Regions from separate parts of the Homo sapiens genome. Here region 1 is linked to region 2. Evidence: promoter capture Hi-C in human tissues and cell types (Jung and others, 2019). All regions are on one chromosome and are shown on one strand. Each heading gives the region's core, a stretch centred on a gene start or on the middle of the fragment in contact. The rest is flanking DNA. Distances are from core to core; before and after follow the strand shown. Region 1 holds the start of ZNF837 (zinc finger protein 837). Region 2 holds the start of ZNF552 (zinc finger protein 552).

Region 1 (6,832 bases), core at 2,053-4,552, 570 kb after region 2:
CACACACCCAAGGGCACTGCTGCCACCACATGGGAAGTTGTGACGGGAGGGAGGAGACTGAGGGCAGGACACAAGACATGGAGACACACATTCTGGTCTGTCTGACCATGGAGCTCTGTCCACACCCAGGCTGCCTGCTGGCTCCCAACCACCACACACAGTATCTGGCGTTTCTCACAGGTGTCGGCTTCTCTCTCTCGAGTCCATCTGCTGGCCGTGGACCTGGCTATTCGGGGCAGGCCCATCCTGCCCACCTCCCCACACTCTCTCAAGCCTCTGTCTCTGAGCACTGCAGGTTTTGTAGTGTTCCCTCGTCTACCTCTGAGAGGCCAGGCTGACTGAAGAGCTCCTGAGAAAGCCACCAGGACCCACTGCTAAAGGGGTTGGTCCAGGGTCATTGCCAGGCTGGGATCTGAGGTCCCCACACATAGGGCAGGGAACTCCCCAGCCATAGACTCTGATGGGGGTACCAGTGTGGACTCCAGCCCTTTACACGGAGGAGGGAGCATGCCACTATGGATGCTGAGCAGCAGGAGGTCAGGGGCCCCGCTTTCACAATGTGCCATCCCAGAAGCCCCACAGCCAGGATCTGGACCTCTCTGACACAACTCCAGGTCACAGAGACCCAGATGTCAGGGATGGAGGGACTTGGGCACCTGCCTTGCTATTAGCTCCAAGGCTGCTGGCTTCATGTCACAGTCTGTACAACAGCTGGTGGCATGAGCAGGGCTAGGACCAGCACTCAGCATGACTTCCTAGAACTCTAGGGACTTAGGGGCTGAGGACTTCCCAGGGTGAAAGACCATACCTGGGACAGCCTGGCCAAACAGGGACAATTGATCACCATGGAATCAGTGGACAGGCCCAAGAATGGATGGGCACATGAGGTCACCCAGGATCAGGCAGGTTCCACTGAAGGAGGCTGCAAAAGATATATCCAATGTCCTAACCCCGGAACTCTCAGAATGTGACCTTATTAGGTCTTTGCAGACATAATTAAGGATCTTGTGATGAGATCACCCTGAATAACCTGGGTGTGCCCTAATTCCAATGACAGGTGTCCTTATGAAGGAGGCAAAGGGAGTTCTGACACGGAGAAGAGTGGTCCATGTGAAGATGGAGGCTGATATTGGAGTGATGCAGCCACACTCCAAGGAACACCCGGAGCCGCCAGAAGCCGGAAGAGGCAAGGAAAGACCCCCACCCAGAGCCGTCAGAGAGCACAGTACTGCTGACACCTTGATTTCAGACTTCTGGCTTCCAGGACTGTGAGAGTAAATTTCTGTTGTTTTAAACTGCCCAGTTTGTGGTAGTGTGTTATAGCAGCCACAGAAACTAATAGAGACTGGTCTAGCACCCTCGACAGAATGTGTGTGTTGTAAGGGGCTCTCCTGATCCCTAGTGATGGGGAGTCAGAGGACTGCTTAGTGTCTGAACAGAGGGTTGGGGAAGCTGGGTTGTCCTGAAGAACCAGCAGTCCCCACTTGGCAGAAAGGGACCCTGAACTTGTGGGAGGTGGGGGCTGAGGGGCACCTGCTAGCCATGTGCTAACAGCATCTTCGGATTGGTCCCCAGATGCCCTGCTCCCAGGGGTGGCTCCTCTGCTGCAACAAGAACCTGCCTCCCAGCACCAGACACAGCAGGTGGGAGCTGTGGACCATGGCCGAGTCTCTTCGTCTCCTTGATCTGCTCCCAGGATGCACTGTCCAACTATCCCACCTGTAGGTGGGTGGCATTCCAGCCATGGACCCATGATCTGAGGCTGAGCACAGCAAACACAATCGAGGCTCTGGGTCCCAGGTCCCAGGAGCCCGTCCTTGATGGTGCATTACAGCTCTCCCAGGCTGTTCTTACAGTGACCTCCCACCTGCCCCAGGTGAGCATGCTTGCACCTGGGTGCTCGCCCAGCCTTTCTAGTTGTCCTTAGGGCTTCTGGTGTTGGGAACAGGATGCAGAGTTACCAATTTAGGGGGACTGAGAGGTTAACGTGGCCAAGGCTGAGCCCTGCAGAACTGCAGAGCAACAGCACACACAGGAAAGCTAGTGAGGTTCAACATCCTCATGGAGGTTGCACACGGCACAATGAGGTCTTATTTGCCCAAGAGAATGTGCAGGGAAGTCGCCAGGCACGGTGGTGCATGCCTGTAATCCCAGCTACTCGGGAGGCTGAGGCTGGAGAATCGCTTGAACCCGGGAGGCGGAGGTTGCAGTGAGCCGAGATCGCGCCACTGCACTCCAGCCTGGGCAACAAGAGCGAAACTCCGTCTCAAAACAACAACAACAACAACAACAACAAAAACAGAATGTGCAGGGAAGTCAACGTTGGTGGCTCTGAGGTGTGGAGGACACAGGCTAGTGCCCAGCTCAGCGTGGCTCCACCTCTCTGAGCCACAGACCAACCTCACCCACACTGACAGTCCCAGGGGACACAGACTCTAGCCCCTATGTCCAATTCTACACTGTGCACGCAATGGGAAGAACAGTGCATCATGCACTGTACAGCAGAAGAAATGTCCTCTGAGTGCAGGCACAGCTCCCTTCTGTGTCTGTCCTCCCGACAGTGCCTCCACCCTCAAGGATTAGCAAGCTTCAACCCTCGCAGGACATCCACTGTGTCAGGGCCAAACGGTGCTGCATCCTGCTCTAATAGTGAGTGAAGGAGGGGACCGCAGACAAGAAGAAATGAACAAGAGACCGTTTAAGAGAGAAAAAGACGTGAAGAACATCAGACAGGGAGCAGCGCGAGGGCGCCAGGGAGGGAGGCAGCGGATTCTTCGGGCCTCTGTGAAGAGGGGGCATGAAACCGGTCTGCAGACAAGGAAAGAGCAAAGTGCAAAGGCCAGGATGCGGGGGCAGAGACGGTAGGGAGGCCGGCGTCGGCCTCGGCTAGCAGGTGGGCTTGACTCCGAGAGCCGCAGGCCGCCAGGATGGGTCCCGGGCCTGGAGCCTCCCCTCGCGGGCTTCAATGACACCCAGCACGGAAACGCGGGGGCCAGAACTACAGAAGCCCGTCCCGCCCGGAACTCAAGGTCGCGAGTGCTGTGTGGCCGGTCCGGACCCGGAGCGCGAGGACCGGAAGTGCGCGGCGTCACGCCTCTGCCCCGGACCCCGCGCGCGGAGGTGGAGAGGGGACTGGGGTGGTGGCCGCGCTATGCGCCGGGAGGTCCCCGCCTCGCAGGCCGAGGTTGCGGGTCCGCGCAGAATGCCACTTACTCTCTGGAGGCGGCCCGCACGGGTCCCTGGTCCCCGCCCCGCATGCAGCGCGGAGCCGTCCTCCCGCCACCTCCGGGCCGCCGCGGCACTGAGGGACCCGGGCCACAGCAAGCGCAGGCGGGAACCCGCGCGGGGACTGCTGGGAAACGTAGTCCCGTCATGTCCCGCTTTGACGCTGCGGAGAAAGCGGTGTAGGGAGAGGCTTGGGCTTCGGTTATCATAGAAACAGAGGCCGGCTACACCTAAAAGGCGGGGCGTGGACCTAAGTCGTCGCCAAAGAAACGGCGTTCTGGACGGGGACGTAGGGTCCCGCCCATTCCTTCTCGTGAAAGCGGGTGACTGGTCATGATTATGATTGATAGCCTCCTCTCCCAATCTGATTTCTAAGAGGTCCCAACCCGGAACCGACTTGCGGTTCGCAGGCTCCCCTCGGGTGGGAGAGTTGGGCTGGGAAGCACCTGGGGAGCTCTGAAGTGTCTTGGTGAGCGCGTTGCGAGTCAGACCGATAACATCAGAATCTGGGACTGGGCCCGAGCATATGCGCGTCAAAACTCCTCAGTTAAGTCTATTTTTTTGTATTTTTTTTGGTTTGCTTTTTTGAGACGGGGTCTCGCTCTGTCGCCCAGGCTAATGCAGTGACACCATCACGGTTCACTGCAGCCTCGACCTCCTGAGCTCAAGCGATCCTCCTACTTCAGCCTCCAGAGTAGCTGTTAACAGGGGCGCGCGCCACCACGCCCGGCTAATTTTCTTTCTTCTCTCCCTCCCCCTCCTTCTCCCCCTCCCTTCCTCCTCCCACTATGTCGCCCAGGCTGGTCTCGAACTCCTGTACTGAAGCGACCCTCCCACCTCACCCTCCCGAATAGCTGGGACTATAGGTGGGAGCCACCATGCCTGGATAGTTTTTTTATTTTTATTTATTTATTTATTTTAGAGATAGGGTCTCCATATGTTGCCCAGACTGGTCTGGAACTCCTGGGCTCAAGCGATCCTCGTGTCTCAGCCTTCCAGAGTGCTGGGAGTACAGGCTTGAGCCACTGCGCCAGGCCCCTAGTCCGGCTCCTAGTTGATTCTAACACGTGCGGCCCCATTGGGGAACCACAGCCTCCCCAGCCCCTTTGGGTGTTGCTGACTCTACGGGCCCTCCCAGGTAGGATGAACTGGTCACGCCTCCTACCCATTTGTAACCCCCAGCTCTTGCCCCCATCTATTGTGTGGCTCCTGCCCTCAATAGGGACATCTAATTTTGTTGGCCAGTCCAGCACATATATTGCATGTAACGACCCAGTTTGCCCCACCTTTCTGCCTCCACTGCATCTGCTTCAGGGATGCTGGGACTGTTCCACTCCCTTTCTCCATCCTTTGGGTGTCTGCACATCGAAAGCCTTGTCAGGAGGTCTATCTCCCTGCCCAAGTACAAAACTCAGGGCTTACCAAGCTAATTGAGGGCGAGCAGGAGGCTGAAGGGCACTTGGAGGGCTGCCCGCCTTGTGGGTCCCTTGGTGGCTGAAGAGAGTTGCACAGGAAGGCCTTGACAATTGTCACAGAGAAAGGAGTGCAGCTGCTGGCTCTGTGTGGGTGTGCAGATGTCTGACAGGTTCAGCCACTGGCCCCAATTGGGACACAAGTGGGATTTCTTTTTTTTTTTCTTTTTTGAGACAGTCTTGCTCTGTTGCCCAGGCTGGAGTGCAGTGGCCGCGATCTCAGCTCACTGCAACTTCCGCCTCCCAGGTTCAAGCAGTTCTCTGCCTCAGCCTCCCGAGTAGCTGGGATTATAGGTGCCCACGACCTCGCCCGGCTAATTTTTGTATTTTTAGTAGAGATGGGGTTTCACCATCTTGGCCAGGCTGGTCTTGAATTCCTGACCTCATGATCCACCCGCCTCGGCCTCACAAAGTGCTGGGATTCAGGCATGAGCCACTGCACCCGGCCTGACACAAGTAGGATTTCTCACACCTGTGGATGCACTGCTACTGGAGGAGTCTTGAGCCTATGTGGAAGAACTTCCCACTCCCAGGCACAGAAAGGGCCTCCCTCTGGAGTGAAGATTCTGGTGGTACCACAGGCCTGGCCACCACACAAAGGCCTTGTCCCTGCAGGGCTGGCATGGGGTGACTGGCAGCCCTGGAGTGGAGTTTGAAGCACCAATGAAAGGCCTAACCACTTGGCAGGCACAGGTGCGGGGGACTTGTCTGGAGGGGACCGGCTATGGGGGCTGTGACAGTCTGTAGGCTTTCTTCACTTCTACACAAGCCTGTTGTCTAAGTGGACCCTGCAGGGTTCATGCAGGGGCAGCACCAGAGAAGCATCTTGTGACAATGGTTACACAGGAGCGATTTCAGGAATGAGACTGAATCAGGCAAGGACCTGGAGAGGAAGCTCCAGTGGGGCTCCCACCCAAGGGGTCCAACTTTACCAATCCCACAGGTCCCCAGTCTGGGGCTCATTCTATGTCTGTAGGCCTGGGACCCTGCACCCAGGAGAGTTGTCCTGCTACCGGCCATCCCTCCGCAGAGGTCCCCCTCTGGCTCTATGCTGTCTTCAGCAAAGGGCCTCTGCTCCATTTCACACCTCTCCTGAGGGCCTGGGGTAGCTTACTGCGAAGCAGCCTCAGGGAATAGAGGCTTCAGCAGGGCATCTTGGCCCCCAACACAGAATCCTGGTTGTAGGATCTGGAAGAACAGAGGAGAAATGGAAGTTGGCAGTTCCCAGGAGGGGAGAAGGTGCTGGTGAGCCACGAAAGCAAACCCCAGTGGCTGAAGCATCCTGGATGACTCGGCCACATTTCCTTAAGAATCTTTGTGTGTGTGTGTGTGTGAGACGGAGTCCCATTCTGTCACCCAGGCTGGAGTGAAGTGGTGCGATCTTGGCTCACTGCAACCTCCACCGCCCAGGTTCAAGTGATTCTCTTGCTTCAGCCTCCCGAGTAGCTGAGACTACAAGCGCCCGCCACCACGCCTGGCTAATTTTTTTGTATTTTTAGTAGAGATGGGGTTTCACTGTGTTAGCCAAGATGGTCTCGATCTCCTGACCTCGTGATGTGCCCGCCTCGGCCTCCCAAAGTGCTGGGATTACAGGCATGAGCCACCATGCCCGGCCCTCTTCTGTCTCTTATAAGGACACTTGTCATTGGATTTAGGGTCCACCCTACTAATCCTAGATGCTCTCATCTTGGGATCCTTGACTAAATTACATCTGCAAAGATTTTTTTCCAATAGGTCACATTCGCTGGGTCTGGGTATTAGGGCATGAACTTACCTTTTTGGGGGCCACCATTCAATCCATTACAGGTGGGCATCCCATAGAAGCAGACAGTGGCTAGGCCAAAGTAGCCCATGAAGTATCAGCCATGGGCACAAGATCAAGTTTGGGATGCGGCAGGGCCAGGCTTGGCTCTGCCAGGCAACTGGGTGGACTGAATCCAGCACACTCCAAACGAGTTGATAATCAGGCTGGGGACTTCAACAGACAACCAAGGTGCCAGTAAAGGCATTAAGGAGCTATCACGGCCAGGTGCGGTGGCTCACACCTGTAATCCCAGCACTTTGGGAGGCCGAGGCAGGCGGATCACGAGGTTAGGAGATCGAGACCATCCTGGCTAACAGTGAAACCCCATCTC
Region 2 (6,133 bases), core at 2,917-5,416:
GGAAGGCCTCTTTGCAGTTGAGATAAGAGGAGGGCATCTGTCTCCCGCTCATCCCTGGGCAATGGAATGTCTGGGTGTTAAAACCCAATTGTATATTCCATATACTGAGATAGGAGAAAACCGCCTTAGGGCTGGAGGTGAGACATGCTGGAGGCAATACTGCTCTTTAAGGCATTGAGATGTTTATGTATATGCACATCAAAAGCACAGCACTTTTTTCTTTACCTTGTTTATGATGCAGAGACATTTGTTCACATGTTTTCCTGCTGAACCTCTCCCCACTATTACCCTATTGACCTGCCACATGGTAGAGATAATGATCAGTAAATACTGAAGGAACTCGGAGACTGGTGGCGGCAGGGGGAAGGCAGGGTTCCTCCGTATGCTGAGCGCCAGTCCCCTGGGCCCACTTTTCTTTTTTTTTTTTATTTTTTATTCTTTATTGAGACGGAGTCTCGCTCTGTTGCTCAGGCTGGAGTGCGGTGGCACAATCGCGGCTCACTGCAAGCTCCGCCTGCCGGGTTCACGCCATTCTCCTGCCTCAGCCTCTCCGAGTAGCTGGGACTACAGGCGCCCGCCACCACGCCTGGCTAATTTTTTTGTATTTTTAGTAGAGACAGGGTTTCACCGTGGTCTCAATCTCCTGACCTCGTGATCCGCCTGCCTCGGCCTCCCAAAGTTCTGGGATTACAAGCATGAGCCACCGCACCCAGCCCACTTTTCTTTCTCTATATTTTGGATCTGTGTCTCTTTCTTTTCTCAAGTCTCTCATTCCACCTGACGAGAAACACCCACAGGTGTGGAGAGGCAGGCCACCCTTCATTAGCCGGGCATGGTGGCACATGCCTGTAATCCCAGCTACTCAGGAGGCTGAGGGCAGAATTGCTTGGGCCTGGGAGACAGAGGTTGCGGTGAGCCAGATCGCACCATTGCGCTCCAGCCTGGACAACAAGAGCGAAACTCCATCTCAAAAAAAAAAAAAAAAAAAAAAACAATGGAGAAGGCCAGGTGCAGTGGATCATGCCTGTAATCCCAGCACTGTGGGAGGCAAAGGCAGGCGGATCATGAAGTCAGGAGTTTGAGACCAGCCTGGCCAATATGGTGAAACCCCATCTCTACTAAAAATACAAAACATAGCCAGGCGTGGTGGTGCACGCCTGTAGTCCCAGCTACTTGGGAGGCTGAGGCAGAAGAATTGCTTGAACCTGGGAGGTGGAGGTTGCAGTGAGCCAAGATCGCACCACTACACTCCAGCCTGGGCAACAAAGTGAGACTCTGTCTCAAAAAAAAAAAAAAAAAAAAAAATTAGCTGGGCATAATGGCATGCACCTGTATTCCCAGCTTCTCAGGAGGCTGAAGCAGGAGAAGTGCTTCAGCCCAGGAGGCAGAGGTTGCAGTGAGCAGAGATCAAGCTACTGCACTCCAGCCTGGGCAACAGAACAAGACCCTTTCTCAAAAAACAAACAAACAAAACCAAAAACAAGAATGAAGGAGAAAAGACGATACAGAAATCATGTGTGCTTACTTGTCTGGCCCCAAAAATACTACTGAAATAGAAGAGGTTTCTGTCATGATTTGAATAAAACTCTTGACATCATGCACCACTGTCCTAGGATGCTATTTTTCAGGGACTCAGAACCCATAATGCTGAGGCCAGATTCATTTGCATCTTCTGACCACAGAAGATGATCCCACCACCAAGATAACCAAGTACATGAGACATACATGATGTAAGAACAAAGGGAAAGACAGAACAAGGAAACAGCCAACACTGGCTTAGAACAACTCAGCACATGACAGCAGACAGGAAACAATATTACAAAAAGAATTTCTGTTTTTTGAGACGGAGTCTTGCTCTGTTGCTCAGGCTGGAGCGCAGTGGCACAATCTCAGCTCACTGCAACCCCTGCCTCCTGGGTTCAAGCTATCCTCCCACCTTAGCCTCCCAAGTAGCCAGGATTAAAAGCGTGTGCCACCACACCTGGCTAATTTTTATATTTTCAGTAGAGATGGGGTTTCACCATGTCGGCCAGGCTGTTCTCGAACTCCTGGCCTCAAGTAATCCACCTACCTTGGCCTCCCTGAGTGCAGAAATTATAGGCATGAGCCACTGCACCAGACCTATGAAGAGAATTTCTAAGGACGGTATTACAAGAACAGTCTATAGTCTATGTAGGCAGTGACAATGTCAATGAAGACAATTCCTGGCACAGGGAGGCATGAAGAAATAACAGGTAGAGGAATGAATTAGATCCCGAACCTGAAATCTGGATGAAATCACACAAACATCCACAGGACAAACAAGGTAGCCTGCATTAAGTTGCCTGTAAGACTTCTGACTCTGAATTCTTCCCTGGGAGCTCAATAGCAGGTGTTGGGGCTGCTCCAAGAATGGAGAGGGCAGTATGCATACCTCAGTCCTACCAACCAAGAACTGAAGTAGGAAGCTGTGTCCATGCTCCTGACATGAGAAAGTCTTGCCAATAGAAAAAGAGGGGGAAAGACAGAGACTAGCTCAGGTCACAGGGGTGAGTGTGGGCAACTTACCCAGGGAGGACATAAGTGCCAGGTTCTCCAGCGTCACATCACGGTACAGGCATCTCTGAGCCTCACTAAGGAGATTCCATTCCTCCTGGGTAAATTTCACAGCCACGTCTTCAAAAGTCACTGTGCCCTGTTATGATGTTGACAGATGAAACCACAAACCACCCCTATGCTGAGGTATCACAATCCATCTCTCCCACACATCTACTCTCGCACATCCTCCTCTCAAGGTCCTCAAACATAGGAGAAACTAGGCCCACTGGTCATGGGGTACAGCCACCAACAACAATAGTTAGTTGAACAAATAGGTATCTGTGCGGTGGCTGTGATATAAGAGTCCACCCCCTCCTGACAGGCACTTCCCCTAGTATGGCCGAGGTCATGGAAAGCCCAATGTGGCACCTTCAGCACAGCAGAGATACCCTCTCTGAACGCACCTCATTCTTTTTTTTTTTTTTTTTTTTTTTTTTTTGATACGGAGTCTCGCTCTGTCACCCAGGGTGGAGTGCAATGGCGCGATCTCGGCTCACGCAACCTCCGCCTCCCGGGTTCAAGCGAGTCTGCTGCCTCAGTTTCCCAAGTAGCTGGGATTACAGGCATGCGCCACCACGCCTGGCTAATTTTGTATTTTTAGTAGAGACAGGGTTTCTCCATGGTTGGTCAGGCTGGTCTCTACCTCCGGACCAACCCGCCTAGGCCTCCCAAAGTGCTGGGATTACAGGAGTGAGCCACTGCACCCGGCCCCACCCTCCACTTTCTTGTATGCGTTCCTTAAATGCTTCTACAGCCATAAAGGCCTGAGGGAAGAGGCTGACTTTACAGGACTGTGTCCCTGATAGGATCTGGTAAGCTCAGGCCTCCCTGAACGCTTTTGTGTCCACGGAGCCAGGTGACCTTGGACTATTGTCTAACCTGCGTGTCTCAGCACAAAGTGTCATCTCTACCACCTATATGATCTACAAGGATTCAATCTCAAAGGGCCCCAACGTCATCCCCTCTCTACTCTGTTATTTATTTGGCCTTTAGGAAACTTTAAAAGCCTGGACTTTGATCCAGTCCCTTCTTTCTTGGAAATTCTCCTATTTCTAGTGTCCTCGCAATGATTTCACAGCCCCCAGCCTCCTTGCTTTTCCAGGAGGAGTTCCGCCTCACAGGTTGTTCCCTACAGGCGCCTGTGGACCCCAGGTTCCATCCTCCCGGATCCGTCCATCTCCAGGCCATTGCCCGCGCCCCTCCCTGTACCTGTCGCTCTCCCCACCGCATCCCACGGGTGTCTGAAACAGGGATCCCTCCCGAGAGCGCCTCAGTGTCCCGACGCCGGGTCCGGGTTGCAGAGCCGTAAACAGGTGCCGCTCCCTCGCTGCTTTAGGACTTGTGTGACTAGGAGGTGACCGGAGAGCACGGAAGGCGCCACAATTACCTGAACGGGGAACCTTAGCGCGGCCGCCGCCATGGGACCACGTGGGGTAAGCTGGGTTGAGAGCAGCGGGCGCCGTTAAAGAGCTGCAGAGTCACGTCTGTGCAAAGAGAAGAACGACTCTCGACCTCCTGGATCCAGTCACCACCACGGTCCCAACACAGCGCTCCAAGGACTCCCTAACGCCAATGGAAATGGTCGCTACTAAAGGGCGCCGGGAGTCCCGCCTCTACCTTACTTGCGCACACGGAAACGCCTTCAATGTGAACTCTCACTGGCTCTGCCGTGCTGTCATTTGACGCAGAGCTTTCTGGGTAATGTAGTTTCCCAGGTTCCAAGGCCGTAAAGAGAGAGATTCCCAGGGGCGCTTCGGAAGGAAAAGCCCAGCTCCACCTCCGGGGCCCTCAGGGAAGCCTCCTGACCCGCACGGTGGCGCGCGCCTGTAATCCCAAATTTTGAGAGGCTGAGGTGTCAGGACTGCTTGAGCCCAGGTGGTCCAGGCTGCACTGAGCTATGACTGCACCACTGCACTCCAGCCTGGGCGACAGAACCTGTCTCAAAAGAAAAAGAAATGTTAATTAAGCGTTTGTGCTGTTAAGGGAGGAGACCACCTCTCATATTGTTTTATGCCCAATTTCTGCCTCCAAAGAAACAAGTAAAAACTAAAAGGCAGAAATGAAATCCACAGGCAGACAGCCAGGTGCCAACCCTGGGCCTGGTTAAAGATCGACCCCTGACCAAACCGGTTATGTTATCTATGGATTCCAGACATTGTATGGAAAAGCATTGTGAAAATCCCTGTCCTGTTCTGTTCCGTTCTGATTACCACTGCATGCAGCCCCCAGTCGTGTACCCCCTGCTTGCTCAATCGATCACAAACCTCTCATGTGGACCCCCTTAGAGTTGTAAGCCCTTAAAAGGGACAGGAATTCCTCACTTGGGGAGCTTGGTAGTTGGAGATGTGAGTCTTGCCAAAGCTCCAGGCTGAATACAGCCCTGCGGCTTGTCCTGCTACATTTCTTGGTTCCCTGACTGGGAAGCCAGGTGATTAACAGATAGTCGAGGCAGCCCCTTAGGCAGCTTAGGCCTGCCCTGTGGAGCATCCCTACAGGGGACTCTGGCCAGCTTGAGGGACGCAGAACCTGAGAGCACTCCCGGGTAGGCAATTGCCCCAGTGGAACACCTCGCCAGAGTGGCGTGTGGCAGGCCCCCACAGAGGATCAATGCAGCGGCTGAACACTGGGAAGGAACAGGCACTTGGAGTCCGGACATCTGAAACTTGGTAAGACTAGTCTTTGGAACTTGCCCACTCCATTTGAGTGGAAGGGTGGCCTGATCACCCACGGCATGCCTGTACCGGCACTTTGGTTTTTGTTTTTGACTTGATTTGGATTGCTTGATACTTTCGTTTTGGTTTTGACCTGGCTTGGATTTCTGGATACTCTGATTTGGATTTTGATTCTGGTTTGGTGTAAACGGTAAAAGTGTATGTGTGCCCTTTTTACCTGTTCTTTGTTTTGTGGTGTGCGTGTGGTGTGAGCGTGGTGTTTTGTCTCAAAGAAGCATGGGTCAGGCACAAAGTAAGCCCACTTCACTAGGAACTATGTTGAAACATTTCAAGAAAGGATTTAAGGGAGATTACAGTGTTACTATGACACCAGGAAAACTTAGAACTTTGTGTGAAATAGACTGGCCAGCATTAGAGGTGGGTTGGTCATCAGAAGGAAGCCTGGACAGGTCCCTTGTTTGAAAGGTATTGTGTCCAGAATTGGTTCCTTCCGGTGGGTTCTTGGTCTCGCTGACTTCAAGAATGAAGCCGCAGACCCTCACGGGCAGTGTTAAAGTTCTTAAAGATGGTATGTCTGGAGTTTGTTCCTTCAGGTGTTCAGATGTGTCTAGAGTTTCTTCCTTCTGGTGGGTTCGTGGTCTCGCTGGCTTCAGGAGTGAAGTGGCAGACCTTCGCGGTGAGTGTTACAGCTCATAAAGGCAGTGCGGGCCCAAAGAGTGAGCAACAGCAAGATTTATTGCGAAGAGCGAAAGAACAAAGTTTCCACAGTGTGGAAGGGGACCTGGGCGGGTTGCTGCTACTGGCTGGCCAGCTTTTATTCCCTTATTTGACCCCACCCACATCCTGCTGATTGGTCCATTTTATACAGCGACAGAGTGAGACTC

What was found. The method cuts DNA at HindIII sites, captures the fragments that hold promoters and counts their contacts. A contact is called where the count stands out against the background at its distance.
Region 1: a contact is called between the fragment with the promoter of ZNF837 here and the fragment with the promoter of ZNF552 in region 2, in 1 of the 25 tissues and cell types used here (small bowel).

The regions. Positions count from the first base shown.
Region 1 is chr19:58,377,728-58,384,559 of GRCh38, forward strand. It overlaps ZNF837 (zinc finger protein 837), which reads right to left and starts at 3,303. Exons shown (of 3, transcript NM_138466.2): 1 at 3,214-3,303. LOC105372484 (a long non-coding RNA gene) reads left to right here. Exons shown (of 2, transcript XR_936130.2): 1 at 1-382; 2 at 1,058-1,298. RefSeq lists enhancers at 2,027-2,568, 2,385-2,614, 2,569-3,110, 2,645-2,704 and a silencer at 3,055-3,564. The HindIII fragment of the contact is 47,170 bases long and covers 1-6,832 here.
Region 2 is chr19:57,810,747-57,816,879 of GRCh38, forward strand. ZNF552 (zinc finger protein 552) reads right to left here and starts at 4,167. Exons shown (of 3, transcript NM_024762.3): 1 at 3,965-4,167; 2 at 2,548-2,674. The coding sequence starts at 3,997. RefSeq lists enhancers at 783-1,434, 4,442-4,491. The HindIII fragment of the contact is 37,727 bases long and covers 1-6,133 here.